Regions from separate parts of the Homo sapiens genome. Here region 1 is linked to region 2. The links are contacts of gene promoters, found by promoter capture Hi-C in human tissues and cell types (Jung and others, 2019). All regions are on one chromosome and are shown on one strand. The core of a region is centred on a gene start or on the middle of the fragment in contact, and the rest is flanking DNA. Distances in the headings are between cores, read along the strand shown.

Evidence for each region. The method cuts DNA at HindIII sites, captures the fragments that hold promoters and counts their contacts. A contact is called where the count stands out against the background at its distance.
Region 1: a fragment that was not itself captured here is called in contact with the fragment with the promoter of SLC39A6 in region 2 in 1 of the 25 tissues and cell types used here (dorsolateral prefrontal cortex).

The regions. Positions count from the first base shown.
Region 1 is chr18:35,004,038-35,010,223 of GRCh38, forward strand. It overlaps a transcript of MAPRE2 not described here. Among named protein-coding and RNA genes, the nearest start is that of MAPRE2, 34 kb to the right of the region's middle. The HindIII fragment of the contact is 3,223 bases long and covers 1,092-4,314 here.
Region 2 is chr18:36,124,789-36,130,589 of GRCh38, forward strand. It overlaps SLC39A6 (solute carrier family 39 member 6), which reads right to left and starts at 4,552. Exons shown (of 10, transcript NM_012319.4): 1 at 4,326-4,552; 2 at 1,431-2,228. The coding sequence starts at 2,219. ELP2 (elongator acetyltransferase complex subunit 2) reads left to right here and starts at 5,111. Exons shown (of 22, transcript NM_018255.4): 1 at 5,111-5,283. The coding sequence starts at 5,146. RefSeq lists enhancers at 4,350-4,855, 4,478-4,772, 4,803-4,992, 4,856-5,361, 5,153-5,362. The HindIII fragment of the contact is 7,969 bases long and covers 1,313-5,801 here.

The DNA.
Region 1 (6,186 bases), core at 1,453-3,952, 1.1 Mb before region 2:
TTATTAATTATTTTTGAGATCCTTCACTGAGTAGTATAACAATTCAGTTGTCACCTTTACTTTTATTCTCTTGACTCTTGCCATTTTGTTTTTCACCTTTTTTTAACTAAACATCTCCTTTTTCCCTTAGAGAAAAACTATAAAATGCCACCTCCTCCCTTTTAATTAAAAAAAATAATAATTCTACCAGCAACATCTCCAGACCTGTGTCTCGGAATAATCACATCATGTTGGATCTATCACAAATATTTTATTTTTACACAATGATTTTAAGCTAAATAAACACCAAGTCATTTCTGAAATGGTCATAGAAAACACAGAAGAGCAATGTAGGGCTTAGGTGGAAAGTGGGGAAGAGAGTTAAGGCTCATATGTATATGCAAGTCAGGTCATTCATAGCAGCATCCAGTTGAAACATAGCAACCTCCTCCGTAACCGTTCATCCCCCAAACACTTGATTCTCAAAGCAAACTCAGACTCCTCCATTTCTTAGCCTCCAGAATTGGATTTGTCCCTCATCAGTTTACTGTCTTACTGCCTCATTTAGTCAAAGCATATTTTGAAAATAAATAGGTAATTCATATAAAGAAAGTCAATTGGCTGTGCACGGTGGCTTACGCCTGTAATCCCAGCACTTTGGGAAGCCAAGGCAGGCGGATCGCGAGGTCAGGAGATCGAGACCACCCTGGCTAACACGGTGAAACACCGTCTCTACTAAAAATACAGAAAAATTAGCCGGGCATGGTGGCGGGCGCCTGTAGTCCCAGCTACTCGGGAGGCTGAGGAAGGAGAATGGCGTGAGCCCAGGAGGCAGAGCCTGCAGTGAGCCGAGATCGCGCCACTGCACTCCAGCCTGGGCGACAGAGCGAGACTCCATCTCCAAAAAAAAAAAAAAAGAAAAGAAAGTAAATTACTAAATTACTGCTTATTGGTATGTACATTTTAAAGTCGTTTATAATGCTTATCCTGTTGAAATTAAAAATCTTTTTGACTAGAAAAAGCCTGTGTTGATACTAAATATAAAACCTGGTTAAACCTAAGTTTGGGGAATTCAGTACTTTAATTGATGTTGGTATTTGATACCCCACTAGAGGCACTGCTCCTTGGGGTTATCCGCCGACATGATTCCCGTCACATCAGACTATCAGGGCAGGGGAAAAACAAAAGAAAAAATATTTTCATAGGACTGACATTATACTAAATTTTTATCAACTATTAATCAATATAAGAATTGATCTAATAATATATATTGAGAGTATAATTCTATTGTCTGGCTGACTTAATCACTTTCATATGGTAAGATTGATTGACTTTTGGATATTTGGCGTGTATTTTTTCTTTAATTTTTTCCATTGCTGGCCACACCCACTAAACTAAATTATAACTCTTTGCTTCCATATTTTCATCATATTAAATGCTTGCACTCTTTTTTTCTTCCATTTTTACTATCCCAGTGTCCTGTTTCCCAGAGGAACAGTTCATTTCAACAGCCAGGGAGAAAGCCTGGATGCTCAAGGTAAGGTTTATATAAATTACGTTGCATGACTCCTTGCTTAAAAATTAATTTAAAGTGAGTAGTAATATTGTCATTGTAACAAATTTATTTTCAAAATTCCAGTACACAATTAAAGCCGATATTTGAGTAAATATGCTCTTTTAAAACACTATTTTTCAAATCAAATTCCATTTCCCAAGTGTACGAAGGGCTAATTAATTGCTATTAGTAATTCCTCCAAAAATGGTCAAGCCAATTAATTAAAGTTTAATTTTGAAAAATCTTATGATAGGTGGGGAGGGTAGAATATCAAGATATGGTCAAAATGAACTCATGACATCGCTATTTATAAATAAATGATTTTTATTTGATATTGTTAAGAATCAAGAAAGCCACTCTGTTGGCTTTGAGAGGCAGAAAGAGAGACAGAGTGAGAGCGTGCGAGCGTGCGAGCATGTCTGTGACAGAGATGACGAACCTGGAAAGCCTCATTTTTTTCTGTCTGGGATTTGTCTTTGAGATGCAATCATTTTGACCTTCAGTTATTTCGAACTATTACTCTAAGTCTCTGTAAGTAATGTCTTCAAGAGTCACCTCCAGGAGCCCTTAGAACAAAGGAACAATTAACTGAAATTCCACCAGATGGCAATGTTTGGAAAGCCATTCAGAGAGGTCCCAAGCTACAAGCTATTATTGTTCACACAGAATAGTCTCACAAAGTGTGGTGTAACATCCTATATTTCATCAAAGGTACTCTAAACATCTTTTATTTTACTCCTATTTCTCCACAGCATCAAACATTTTTACTTAAAAAAAAAGTGTGTGGGGACGTATGTGTTTTCTTCTTTCAAAAAAAAATTCTGGAATGATAAAATTAGAAACCTCATTCTTGAATAGTAATTCTCTAAACAGTAATGGTGACTATTAAAAGCTCAAATCATGAATAATATACCATATTTGTTTTGGGGCCTCATTGTAATAAATGCTATGACTGGTGGTCACTTTTTAAATATTTGAGAAGAGAAACTGAAATTCTTCCACTTAATAGCATTTTAAGAAGTTGTCTTGATATTAAAATTTGCAGGTATAAAATTCACTGTATTGACTTGGAACAATTAGTTTATTTAGTGTGGAAGAATAGATGTTTTCTCCTGTTGCTCTAGTGAAAGTGGAAATATGGAGCACTTTTGTAGGCTGAGGTGAGCACATTACCAGAGGTTAGGAGTTAAAGACCACTCTGGCCAACATGGCAAAACCCTGTCTCTACTAAAAATATAAAAACTAGCTGGGCATTGTGGTGCATACCTGTAATACCAGCTACTCGGGTGGCTGAGGCACAAGAATCACTTGAACCCAGGAGGCAGAGGTTGCAGTGAGCCAAGATCGTGCCACTGCACTCCAGCTTGGGTGACAGAGCAAGACTCCATCTAAAACAAGCAAACAAAGTGGAGATATGGTACCCTGCATGATGTTCCAACAGCTGGAATATTCAGGGGCCAGAGCAGGCTCTAGGACAGAGTTGGGACAGGGCTCAGTGGAAAGGTACCTGAGGGCATTAGAAATAGGAAGAACCAGGAAGAGAAACCACCTAAGCTTTCTGTGTCTATAGCTGCGGATCATAAGTGCCCTTTGAAAACTGATCTTGTACTGCTAGCCCTTATAGTAGGTGGTCCATATGTCGGGTCTGTATGAGGCAATCCTGGTTCAAGTCTGTGTTCCTGGAAAATAGTCTAGTTAGCACTGCCTTTCACCCTCAAAACGTTTCATTTTGGATGATAAATTATATGATCATCCTATCTTCCAGGCTGGTGAAGAAAAAGTAACAGGAAAAGGTGGCCCACTATCTAAATAGGGTGTTGCTTTCTAAATCTCCTTATATATGGGGGTATGGGACAAATGTGTTTTTAAAGAGCCAAATTGTAAATATTTTTTGCCTTGCTGGTCATACAAGTCTCAGTCTAAACTGTTCAACTCATTGTAGTGTGAAAACAGACAAAGATAACACATAAAGAGATGGCCTTGGCTGTGTTCAGTAAAGCTATTTACAAAAACAGGCAATGGACTATACTTGGCCTGCAGGCCATCATTTGCGCATCCATGATAGATAACAGAGATGGGTTAAGTTGGTAGGAGATGGCAGAGAACCAAAGAGAGAACCATCATTAGTCCCTCTCCCTTCTCTCTATATCCCTTCTGGGTTGCACCCTCCTTTATTTAACCCTTTCAGGAACTAGTACAGTTGACCCTTGAACAACATGGGTTTGAACTGCACGGGCTTACTTATAAGTGATTTTTTTTTTTCAATAAATGCAGTCAAACTTCCATATCCGTGGATTCCAGATCCGCAACCAAAAGTAAACTGAAAATACAGTATTCATCGGTATATGAAGCCAAAGGCAGCCAGCTTTTCATATTGCTGGATTCAGTGGGCCAACTGGGGGACTTGAGCATGAATGGATTCTTGTGGGGGAAGGAAGGTTCTGAAACCAATCCCCTAGGGAAAGCTGTATTGATCATTTCCTTGAATGAGTAATCCTATCTGCTATTAAGTGGTTCCTGAGATTCCTTTACTGGGTGTCACTTCTTGTTTCTCATCCAAATCTGTTCCTGCACCACACACAACATGCTTGTACTTTATACCTCATGATGTATAAGACTCAGGTGACACCTGAGTCTTAGTGTTAAATACTGAAGCAATAGCTCATTAGTAGGCAATTTAATTTTATGCTTTGATCCTCACTAAATAGTTATCTTTGGGAAATATAATCAGTCACGTTAAGGAAAAGTTCATGTCGACTATACCAAATTTTTTATTATATTAATGAAAAGTAACATAATACACTTAAAGAAAACCTAGAGGAGAAAATCACCCATAACAACACCATCCTAAAATAACTATTTTTCCATTTTTGCATATTTGGTCTTCTCACGGGCATTCCTAATTTTCCACAGTGCATATCATAATGAGTGTGAACTTTGTATTTTACCTACTGTGAGTCACAGCATCTTTTACTTTCATGGGTCATCAGAACTATTATTGGAATTGCAGTATAATGTTATATCAACATGCCATAGTATGTGCTTTAATTCTTACTATCTTCCCATTTTCACTATAAAAAATGCTATGCTAAATTTTTATACAGATCTTGTTGTTGGTTTGGTTTCGTTTGGTTTGTGTCTATTCATCTATTTTCTAAGGTCACAATCCCAGAAGTGGGATTATCTGTCAAGGACAGACCATTTTTATGACTTTTAATCTAGTTTACTATATTTTTCCCAGAGATTTGGAATAATTTACAAACATTTATAGTTTTAGGGTACTAGTTTCACCATAACATTTTCAGAAAGCATTTAATTTATTCAATAGTATTTACTGAATGATTACTAACTGTAAAGCACTGTGCTGAGTGTTTTGGGGTGTGTGTGTGTGTGCATGCACGTGTGTGTGTGTACATATATATATATGAATGATGTGCTCATTCTACATTTATTTTGTGCCTACTATCAGCTAGGTATTGTAGTTTTTCAATAGTGAGCAAGAGATAGCTTCTATCTCAGAGCATTTGACTTTACTGGGGAACTAAGATATATGTAAACGACTTTAGTAAGAAAATAAGATGCACCATAGGAGAAATACAGTTACAGTATAATGGGAGTTTGGGGAGGGGGAGGTAGAGATGACATCTGAGCTGAGCCATGAAGGTGAGTTGGTGTGGAATACTCAGGGATGGTGAGATTAGCTATTCATTCCATAAACATGTATTGATCACCAACTCTGTGCCAAGTTTTATGGTAAAAGCTAGGGATATAGAGGTGACCAAGGCAGAGCTCTTAAAGCATACTATCTAATAGTGTAAAGAATATTTTTTAAAAAATCATTATAAGGGTGATAAGCAGGCTAGCTTGCCTGGCAGAAGATACACAAGGTTAGGGATGAATGCGAGTTTCCCCTGGAATGAAACTTTTCCATGGCTTCTCTTTTGTAAGGCACAGCCTTCATCATCAGTTATTGTGTCAGAATCTGTGGGAACATCTGCTTCTGGAAGCTTGAAGTTTCTTGTAATTGCACTTGTACTGACCAACATTCCAATTAAAGTTGGCCTGCATTGACAGTCCCCTAAATGAGTACATTTACTGAGAATGCACGGAGGATAGGCCTGGGATCGGTGAGACCTACAACTTGGCCCTCACCAGATGATGATGGAAGTAAATCACTAAAAATTGTGGGTTTCATTTGTGTTTTGTCTTTAAAACAGCTGGAAGGAACCTCACTGATAATCTAATCCAACATCTCATTTTACAGATGAACATTCTTGAGTGAGGAGAGTTTGAGTGACTTTTCTAGGGTTAGACAGTGGCATTACCACAGCACCAGAACCTTCACTTCTGATTCTTCTTGTTCTATGGTCACTGCTTTAATTAGCCCTGCCTCATCTAAACCATAGAGGTAGTAAGAATTAGGACTAGATTAACCTAAGCATCCCTTGTATAATAAAAGCAATAAGATAAATTTTACCCATCTCACACCACAGTAACAATTTTTTAATTTACAATTTTTAATTAAAATTTTAATTTAGACCATGGTAGGTCACGCCTGTAATCCCAACACTTTTGGAGGCTGACACTGGAGGATCACTTGAGGCCAGGGGTTCAAGACCAGCCTGGGCAATATAGCAAGACCTCATCTCTCT
Region 2 (5,801 bases), core at 3,302-5,801:
TCGTTTTCTCGAGTTAATGAAAATTAAAATCAACTTCTGTTTTGAGCACTTTGGAACTTGCCTCCAGCTACCTGGCGATACTATGTCACCACAGTGGTATCCCACCTCTTCTACCTCATCAGAGAAGCAGTACATCACGAGTCACCTAGGGAGAAAGCCTCAGGTGGAACAAGCATGAGGATAAATGGAGATTCACAAGCCTGTTAACTCACTGTATAAACGTATTAAGGAAATGAGCTTTAATTTCAAAATGGGGCTCATCAGAGATTGAGAAATATGTTGCTTCAGTACTAACGCTATCCTACTTGGCCTAAACAAGTCCAAGACATGCCTCTCTTCTAGTAATGACTCTACTTGCAAAAACTCAGTTCTGTCTACATACCTGGCAAAGTAATGCTCTGCAATGAGAGGATATTAAATTATGCAGATTATTCTTGTGGAGGGCAAGGCTGGTTAATAAAACAAACCTGTACCGGCAGGCAGATGTTTTCAACTATTTAATTAGATGACAAACTTAGTTTGAAGATACTCCTCTGTGCAATCTCTCCCCCAGCCAAAAAAGAAAAAAAAAAAAAAACAACAAAAAAACCCCAAACTGGCTTTAGTACCAGTTTCTCATCTTCTGTAAAGACATTTTCAACTCCCACCACAATTCTCAGTTGGTACAACTCAGAGCAAACTTTATCACCAGGGCTGCTATGGCTATGGCCACTACTAGGATTAGTCCAGAATTAGTACAGTCACATGCTGGTTTGAATGAAGTACTAAAGTTTTGCTTATTAAACTGTATCAACTAATTCCTTGTTCCTTTTTTTTTTGACATAATTCCCTGTTCTTGACATCTCTCAGCCAAGGTGAATTACGTACAGTCTGGAAGTCTACTCTAGAAAAACCACATGAACTCAGAACCTCACTGTCCCAACTTTTCCCTTGTCCAGCATGACATTCATGGAAACTGCTCCAATTTCAATCATTCCTCAAGTCATGGTGGACCTTCTGTCAAGGAGGCAGCAGTGGTATTCTCAGTAGTCTTCAGCCCCTTCAGTCACACCTTTCCCTACAATATGGATTCTAACTCCTGCTTTCAACCCCTCATTTTCTATTTTTTATTAATAATGTTCACCTTTATAGACTTTCTCTAAAGATAGCCTTGATATCTTTCTCTACATATTTTATATTCTGTATTAGAAAAAATTGTAGGAGGCAGCACTACGCTCACCAAAAGAACTGTTCCCTAAGTTCTGAATTGGGAATGTTTACAACATAGCAGGCATGCTTTGTGGCAAGTGCCTTGCTGAGAAGGTGGAAATTCCCTTTTCAATAACTTCAACATTTTACTTTTACTTTAAACTCCTCATAACTAGAGATAGAGTAGCAGAGACAGGACAGACACACAGGTATATTAAAATAATGAACAGCACTCATCTTACCTCCTGAGGATTTTCATTTGTGTTTCTGGAATACATAAAGCCTTTTCGGGGCTCACTCACAGATTCATTTGTTTTCCTACCAGCCAGCCGGCTCACCCGGCTCTTTGATGTGACACTGGGTGGAGTGGAGCTGCTTACATCTTTGGGGAAGAGTTTTCCAGGTCTTGGAGTCTCTATTGTCTCTAGAAAGTGAGTTCCTTCAGAGACAGTGTTGTACACAGTTGAGGTCACTTCACTAGCACTAACACTGTCCTTGACATTCCTTCTACCACTGGCATGTTCTGGTCGGTGAGCTCCTTTCCCCTGGCTGTTTCTAGGATCTTTACCTGAACTATCTGAGTCATGGTCTGGGCAAAGAGCTTTTCGCTTATTTTTACCAGAAGCAGCATGATTATGGTGAGAGTGATGATCATGGTCAGAGTGATGCTCGTGCTCTGAGTGATGCTCATGGTCTGAGTGACGCTCATGGTCTGAGTGATGCTCGTGGTCTGAGTGATGGTCGTGGTCATGGTGTATATGGATTCTTTTAATCTTATCTATGCCTATATTTTGAAGTAATTTTCTGAACCCTTCAACTGACAAAGAATTATTTTCTCCATAGCGGTAGAAAAGCTGTTGTAGATGATATTGCCGTGTGGAAATTGCCAAGTCAACATTAATGCCAGATTCCCAATTCGGACTAATTTTCTCAGTGGTCTGGGGGAAAGCAGCTGCTTTTAGTTCATGAAGGGGATTTGTGACAGAGAGGGCAAAGGTCAGGATCAAGATTACAGATAACTTCCTCGCCATTGCGCCTTCCTAGAAAAGACAGGAAAAAAAAATTCTTGACTCACTTCTAAAACAAATTGAATTAAGAAACCTCATACTGAAAATTAATGTGTAATCAAATAATCAAAGTTGCCAGAGCATCATGTGGTGTGACCAGTGTGACGCTAGGTACTGTGAAGATGGAAAGAACTAGAGTCCTAGGCTCTACCCTTGCATTCCTAAAACACATGAAACAACTGGAGAAGAGCTGAGTGCTAAGAGACTGCCATTAGCACTGTAAAAGCAATAGTAATTCAGAGACAAGGGAGATCCATGTGGCCACAGCCATCAACTGCTTACTGAAGTTGAGAATTTATTTGAACGATTATTTGAATCATTGAGGCCAATGATTCATAATTAAATCTAGGCTGGGTGTGGTGGCTCATGCCTATAATCCCAGCACTTTGGGAGGCTGAGGCAGGCAGATCACCTGAGGCCAGGAGTTTGTGACCAGCCTGGGCAACATTGTGAAACCCTGTCTCAAAAAAAAAAAAGAACGAAATGAAATCTAGCTACCTTGATCATCACCATCATTTCATAAAATAACCTTCAAACACCAAAAAATAGAAATAATAATCTCAGAATTCACATATTTAAAAAATTTTAAACTAATACACTCTCCTTACATACAAGCCCATTTAAGACCCCTTTCCCCAATCACAATCCTCAAAGGTGCTCAATTTTGCCAGTGTATCCCTCAGGATATTTTCTATGCATACTCAAATACATGTATACTTAATTTTTTTTTTAAAGTTTTTTTTTTTTTTTTCTAGAGACGAGGTCTCACTATGTTGTCCGGGTTGGTCTTGAACTCCTGGCCTCAAGAGATCCTCCACCTCCAATTCCCAAAGTGCTGGGATTACAGGCGTGACCACTACGCCCAGCCTCAAATAAGTGTATACTTTAAATACACATTGAATCTTTTTTCCGACTTGACAATGAATCAGACACATTATGTCCATACATAGAATTCTTAAAGTAAACTGAACTTCATGAAAAACTCACTGTAGCATCCTTGTGTTACTACAAACCAGTCAACATTTAATCACAGGCTGTTAATCATCCACAGTAGTGTTTGGAACCAAAGGCCTGTGCCCCAAAGAGGAGGAAGCAATTGAGTTGGAGCTTGAAAAGCAGAATTCAGTTAAGCAGAGCCAGAATTCAGTTAATTCAGATCCAGCAGGATGTCCAGCACCAACGGTGGAGGTGATGGTGGTCAAACTCACATCTCCAGCAAAAGACGCAGACGTCAAGTTTACAACTAAGCAAGAGCATGGGGCTATCCAGCTCTACCACGGTCAGCTGTTCTTTGGACAGGGCTCTCGCATTCATTACCTTATCTAAAATACCGGTAAAACCTATTTTGCAAGGCGAAGGAGGAAAACACATGAAGGAATGTATATTACAAGTACTCGTTAAACTCATGTGTTGCACAAGTGCGAGGTATCATACAGGGAACAGTGGGAAATGGAGGTACGGCGTAGAACGAGGCTCCTGAAAGAGGAATCTTTGGGGCTTGAAGTTTCGGGAATTCTTTTACTAGGTAAAAGATAAACATTTAGAAATCATTCCCAGGAGAGAGGCGAGGAGCGGGGTGGGAGGGGACTAGCACAGGGGACAGCTCCGAGCCTTTCTCCAGGGAGGATGCTGAGCGCGGTCGTGGACCCGTTGAAGGATCTCCTTTCCTGCAAGTTGGTGTGTGCTGGAGGAAAAAGGAAAGCAGAAGGGAAGGGCCTTAGAGAAAAAGGCGAGTACAGAAAACGGAAAAGAGGGCACAAAGCTCTCTTCTAAAAGCTTTTTATTTCTAAACACGTCAGTCCCTTCTTCGAATATGGGATGAAAAGTACGGATCTTTTCCTCAAAAAATCCTCCGTTGCACCCCGAAGCCCATCTGAGCACCTTAAGAAGTCCGGCTCTCTAGGGTGAGTGGGCGCCTGCGGCGGGCTCCCCCCAGCATCCTCTTTCTGTAGCCCCCCTGCCCGGTCCGCAGGATCCGGTTCTCCGCAGAACCACCCCTACCCCGCCACGCCTGTCTGGCCTGAGGAGCTCCCCTCCCAGCCGCCCTGCTCCCGGACCTGAAAGACTCACGTCTCCGCGGCCTCGTTGTCCCACGGCCCGGCCACGCGCGCAGGTTTGGTTCCACACGGGCGGTCCAGAGGGCTCGGAACGGGCCCACTGGTGTCTTCGAGAAATCTCTACCAGGCGCGAACACGCGGTGGTTTCATTGGGTTGGCTGCCCCTCGGTCCGGGGGCAGCGCCGCGCAGCCACCCGGCAGCCGCGCCCCTAGCCTTCGCGAAGCTGGAAGACAATCACTAATTACCGCCGCGCGCAGCGCCGCGGGGAACCACCGCCCCCTTCGCCCAGGACTGCAGGGCATGCGCAGTGCGACCCCGGAACCCGGCTCCGCAGACGGATCCGCTTTTCCGTGTGTTCGCCGACGCCGCGGGGGCGTGGCGCGGCCCTAGCGCATTGTAAGCAGTTGGGGGTCATTTCCTCGAGGCCCTACTCGCTAGCCAGCGCCCCCGGGGCCAGCCCTGGCTGCTGCTGGGAGCCGGGTCGTAAGGGGCAGCGAGATGTTTCTGACGCTGCCCCAGGCACATGAGCCCCGGGTCCTTCGGGAGGGTCCCGAGCCACTCGGGTCGGATTTCGCTCTTGAGACAAAGGCCTGGCTCGTTCGCGGAGCGGGGCCACGGTCCAAGAGCAGAGCTAGCAAAGCGGCGGCCTTGCACAGGGGTTCCAGCCTGCGGTGGGAACGGAGAGTCTCAGGGGGGCGGGGCTGCCTCCGTCTGGCCCTCGGCTGGCTGCGAAACGTGGACTGGGTGATGCCTCAGGAGAAACCACCCTAGTAGTTCCGCTCCGAGGGCGGAAGTGCGCGTCTCTTGTTTGTGCGGCTGACCAGTTGGCGACATGGTGGCACCCGTGCTGGAGACTTCTCACGTGTTTTGCTGCCCAAACCGGGTGCGGGGAGTCCTGAACTGGAGCTCTGGGCCCAGAGGACTTCTGGCCTTTGGCACGTCCTGCTCCGTGGTGCTCTATGACCCCCTGGTAAGAGAGGTCGCTGGACGGCCGACCCTTGTGCTTTTCGGGTTGAACCTGTGGACGTGCTCCGGGCGCGCTGTTAGTTGCCGCCCCAGACCTAGGAGGCGAGTCGGGTCGGCTCAGGGGAGCGGGGTTTGGGCTCGGAGTCTCCAGTGGACCTGCCGGACTCGCTCCTCACCCCTCACCCTTTGCCGTCTCACGCGTGGCGTCATCCTAGGGTCATTGCTGCCCATGAGCTGCTAGTAACCTGTTAGTCCCACGCAGAAACCCGAATGATAAGCATCTTACCTGAAGCCTTCCTTGGGAACTGTAGTACCGTTAATCAATTTGGGTTTTAAAACAATTGAAATTTATATGTAGATTAAAACCATCATCCCACAGGTGCAATCTCATTTCAGTATTTCCTTCAGTTTTGGTTAATGAACTTTTGTTGTATTGAATTTCAAGGAAATGTTACCTGTGTTTTAGCTACGGGAATGGACATTTTAGAGAAAGTGTCAGTTTGGGGGAAAGGTCATAGGGGA